2 separate regions of the Homo sapiens genome follow, and region 2 is linked to region 1. The links are contacts of gene promoters, found by promoter capture Hi-C in blood cells and fetal thymus (Javierre and others, 2016). All regions are on one chromosome and are shown on one strand. Each heading gives the region's core, a stretch centred on a gene start or on the middle of the fragment in contact. The rest is flanking DNA. Distances are from core to core; before and after follow the strand shown. Region 1 holds the start of SORCS1 (sortilin related VPS10 domain containing receptor 1). Region 2 has its middle 240 kb from the start of LINC01435.

What was found. The method cuts DNA at HindIII sites, captures the fragments that hold promoters and counts their contacts. A CHiCAGO score of 5 or more calls a contact.
Region 2: a contact is called between a fragment that was not itself captured here and the fragment with the promoter of SORCS1 in region 1, in 1 of 17 cell types (M1 macrophages). The highest score is 5.1, in M1 macrophages.

The regions. Positions count from the first base shown.
Region 1 is chr10:107,163,436-107,165,975 of GRCh38, reverse strand. SORCS1 (sortilin related VPS10 domain containing receptor 1) reads left to right here and starts at 1,270. Exons shown (of 26, transcript NM_052918.5): 1 at 1,270-2,007. The coding sequence starts at 1,450. RefSeq lists a silencer at 1,361-1,554. The HindIII fragment of the contact is 2,762 bases long and covers 144-2,540 here.
Region 2 is chr10:107,830,990-107,833,529 of GRCh38, reverse strand. No RefSeq gene overlaps it. Among named protein-coding and RNA genes, the nearest start is that of LINC01435, 240 kb to the left of the region's middle. The HindIII fragment of the contact is 2,570 bases long and covers 1-2,540 here.

The DNA.
Region 1 (2,540 bases), core at 21-2,520:
TCACCTGCTATAAATCTTCATCTGAACTTACGAATAGTAGCAGGGTGCTAGGCTGGGCAGATACTATAATCATACAATTATAGAATTTTAGGAGCGGAAGGGATTTTAAAGGTCATCTAATGTGACCATTTAATTTTAAAGCTTAGGAAGCTGACAGATTGTGATTTGTCTGAGGTCCCAAAGCAAACCAGTGGCAGAGCACCATCACAGACTTGCTATTAGGGATCTCAAAGCATGTGGCAGTAGCACTGGGCCAGGCACCAAGTGACACAGAATAACTATAAGTACTGTGCCTCCTTTCCTGTATTTATTTGTTATGCAGATATGCATTAGACTCACAATAAATATTTATTGAACTAATGACTGGCAGATTTCCTCCCATGTAGGGTACTGTGCCACGTACTGAGGAAAATGGTAAACAAAAAACAGGTCACTTCCTCCAAGTTGCTCGAAATTTGATCTTCCTGTCCTCAATGAGTTTGCAGTCTCTTAGGGAAACCAAGATATATACGCTTAAAAAACGCGTAGTGGAAAGCGTTTTCTTAAATATGATTGCATGCAGGAAGATTGGGTTCAAATTCAGTGAATGCTTTAGGAGGTTAGGAGAGAAATCTAAGCGTTAAAATTGATGGGAAAAAAAATCCCCCAAACTAACACACACACACACACACACACACACACACTCACACACGAGATCATTTAATTACATCACTCTCTGCTGCTGCCTTTCCGGGATCTCCCCCCAGGCTGGGACACACAGGCTCTGCTGCGGGTAAGGTCAAGATGCCAACTCAGGAAGCATAAGAGAGGGAAGGAGCAGAAGCCCACCCATCCCTATCTCCTCAACTAGAAAAGACCAGAAAGACGGAGAAAAAAGGAAACAGCAACATAGACTCATAGAAACAATAAAGCAGGAATAGGAAGCTCCCGACACATCGACTGCTCCGGGAGCCCGGGGTCGACCGCCCCCGCGGGCAGGGTGCGCGGACTCAGCGCCGGGACCCGCGGCCGCGGGGGCGCAGAGTGGGCGGCGGGGAGAGGCGGCGGCAGCGCCTGCGAGGCCGAGGGGAGGTCGCCGGCGGCGCCTCCAGCGCCCGGAGACCCGGTGCGCAGCGCAGCTCGGCCGCGGGACGCGGCGCCCGGAGTCCCGGCAGCGCCTGCCCTCCCTCCCGCGTCGCCCGCCAGCGCCCGCGCCCGCTCCGCCAGTGACTTCAGCTCAGCTCCACCCCCGCGCGGCGGCGGCTCGCTCCGTCCGGACCCGCGCTCGGCACAAGCCCAGCCCGGGCAAGCGGCCGCCACCTGCCCGGCGCCGCCTCCGCCCGCCCCCACCGCGGCGCAACTTGGATGGAGTTGGGGTCCTGAGCGCCGGCCCCCCACAGCCGCCAGCGCAGAGCTCGTGCCGCCACCTTCGTTCTGGGACCCCTCTCTCCGCTGCTCTTCGCTCCCGCGATGGGAAAAGTTGGCGCCGGCGGCGGCTCCCAAGCCCGGCTGAGCGCGCTCCTCGCCGGCGCGGGGCTCTTGATCCTCTGCGCCCCGGGCGTCTGCGGCGGCGGCTCCTGCTGCCCCTCGCCGCACCCCAGCTCCGCTCCACGCTCGGCCTCGACCCCTAGGGGCTTTTCCCACCAGGGGCGGCCAGGCAGGGCTCCTGCCACGCCCCTGCCCCTCGTAGTGCGTCCCCTGTTCTCAGTGGCCCCCGGGGACCGAGCGCTATCCCTGGAGCGGGCTCGGGGCACTGGGGCATCCATGGCGGTTGCTGCACGCTCCGGCCGGAGGAGACGGAGCGGAGCGGATCAGGAGAAGGCAGAACGGGGAGAGGGCGCGAGTCGGAGCCCCCGGGGAGTGCTAAGAGATGGAGGGCAGCAGGAGCCTGGGACTCGGGAGCGGGACCCGGACAAAGCCACCCGCTTCCGGATGGAGGAGCTGAGACTGACCAGCACCACGTTTGCGCTGACGGGAGACTCAGCACACAACCAAGCCATGGTCCACTGGTCTGGCCACAACAGCAGCGTGAGTAGAATGGGACTGAGGGTAAAGGGGTGGAAAGATGGAAAGGGTTAAAGTCGGCTGTGTGATCTGATGGAGAATTGGGGGGAAATAGGGTTTCTGGACATGGGAGATGCTGCAAACTGGTCTCTGCCCACTTCCCCCAAGAGTTAACATCACCTACTAGGAGACCAACCTCCCCATCTCTCCCACCAACACCATCAGAGTCCTCTCCAAATGCCACAGCTTCAAACTGAGGAGTCAAATCCCTATTTCCTGTTGCCTTGGTCGCATTGGTGTGTGGAACTGAAGACCAGGTAAACAGAGGGGTTAAAGTTCTCCTAATACAGAGATGAAAGGGTTAAATTTCCAGGCAAGCTGACATCCCCTCAAGTGACTTTCCCTTTACTTGCCAGACCTATGTACTGGCTCAAAGAAGATTAAGAAGACCCATATATGTAGGCGTTTTATTTTATTTTATTTTAATTTCATGCGGAGCTCCTAACCCCTTCTTCTCCACAAGGGAGAACTGCAGTGGAGAGTATATAAGGTGTTCT
Region 2 (2,540 bases), core at 28-2,527, 670 kb before region 1:
AGTACATACCTGTCTTCTACCAAATTTTCAACCAAACTCTTATTACCAGTGTCCACTTGTGTCTATCTTACTTAAGCCAGTGTTTGCATCTTGTCTTTCCTTGCAGTTTTTTTTCCCCTCCTTAGACATTTTTTCTAGCTTATTGCCTTGCAATTCCATCTTCCTGATAGGATCAAGAAAAGTTGTGAATTTGCATGGGGTATCATCACTGAGAAATATAGTTTGCTAATTTGCCTCTTGTAAAATTATATCTTGCTGTTAATTAATTTGCACATATCTGATTAGTAGTAAAAATGTTTGTTTAAATAGTTGAGACTTCCACTTACATTTTTATTTATGAAGAAGAAACTTCATCACATTTAAAGAACTCTTTCTTCATTCTCTGTGCCCCCAGCCTCAGGAACAAGTTCTTGATTTTTTTAATCAAATGGTCACTTTCAGATTAGTATCTTCTACAACCTGCCAAGTTTTAACCTAGAAATTGCTGTTTCTCATCCTCATTGTCTTAAGATTCTATTTTCCTCTTTCCAAGGGAAATTTTACACCAATAGGTTGAAGTTCCATTTTAAAGCTAAGTAGCCACAGTGGTATTAAACAAGGGGGTGGTGAGATGAAAGCTGGATCTAATTGAAAGTAGAATCAATTTAGCAATTTTTTTTGCTAATTTCTAATGATTGATTAATAGACTCCATAATACTACATAAAACTCTAAAATCTTGATTTTTTCAGGGATATTTTGGGGAAAACAAAATTAGAAAAAATTTTATATTTTGAATTTTTTCTTGCAGATTATGATATAGAGATTTGATTTTATTAGAGTATAAGCATCCCTCCCAATGCCTCAGAAGTTTATCAGTCTAAGTCAGAGGTCAAAATAACAAAAACTATCCCAAAGGATTTATTCTAAGTAATAAAACTGAATAATGCTTGTACCCCTGTTTTCCATGTTAACAATGCCAAGGTACAGAGAAAAGGAACCTATTAATTCCCATTTCAAGAAGACATTGTCTTCCTATTAAGAATTTATTGTGGATCAATGGACAGAAATATCCAAGGGATGTTTTAGTCCAGTCAAGGTCAGTGAGGTCAACAAATCTGTCTTCCTGCTTCTAAAGAGTTCTCAGGAAGATTAAACAGCTGATATCATCAAAAGATGTGTAGATAAGGAGTTTGCAGAACTCAATTCTCATCCTAATCTTATTATTGACTAGTTTTGTTACTGGACAAATTTATTCAGGACTATAGGTTACTCAATTAAAAAATGACAGAAATAGAACCTAATAGTCCCAAGGGCAGCTATAAAATTCTGTGGGACAGACATTATTTCCTATCTTAAAACTTGCCAAGCAAAGTAATTTCATATCTTTCCTATAAGGTATTCCCAAAGATCTGTACAGAGACAGTATATATCTTGCACTGTACTTAAGTATCTTAGTGTGTGTTGTTTAAGGAAGTTGGATCATACGCATGTTAAGTAGTCTCCATTCAAGTTTCTCCACCACATTTGGTAATTTTTTGTCAGTCAGAACCTCAGTGATTGTAAGTATGTTTGGCACCTGATACTGTTGAGGTTAAGAAAAGTCAGAGTAGTGGTTAATTATATGGGTTCTAGAGTCAACTGGCCTGAGTTAGAATTATCAATTATCTTTCACTAGTCTTGTGACCTTAGGCAAGTAAATTTAACTTATTGAATTTTAATCATTCTTACCTATAAAATTACGACTCTACTAAACCAACCTACTGAGCCAAATGGGAATGTGAAATGGGCCTTCCATGTAAATCATAGTGCTAGTACATAAGGACAATCCAATATATGATAGTTGTTATTTTTATCCACCCAAACCCCTCTATCTGAGCTATTTTTAGAAGCTATAAAGTATTGTTTAAAATATGGCTGATGTTTCTAGGTAAGTTGTGGCATAAAGCTGTTTCCTTACTTTGTTCTTCTATAAAAGTGGACATTATTAAATCGAGCTAATAAACTCTGACTCATAGTCCCTACTTCTACCTCTATCTTATTAAGTTTTTGGTCTTTCTAGAATTACTTTATTTCATAGAATAGTCCCCTTGTAAGAAATTTAGAGACATAAGAGAATTTTCTCATTGATTCTTTGGCTTTCATTCTGCTAAAGACAGATACCTCTATGCAGCCTATTCAGATAGAGCAGATTGTTAAAACCAGACCTCTCCCCAGTTTATTTCTCAGATATTTACTGAGCATTTACTGTGTGTCATGTAAACTTCTAGATGCTGTAGTGGATAGTGAGAATATTGGGAATTTTAATTTTTTTCTTGCCTCAGTAAGTGAAAGTCTGCTATCCACTGACTCTTCATCACCACGAATGTCAGAATTCAAATCCTCAGTATCTGAGAGATCTCCACGGAGTGTGATTGGTGGTGGTAGGTTTAGTAAAAAGTCAGCAGCCAGACAGTCTCTCACTCCAAAGTCTCCTCTCATCCGTACTGCAAATGGAGTCTGCAGCCTGAAGGAAGGGGCCCATTTCCCCTGCTAACGTTTATAAAGTTTCTTGATTGTCCAT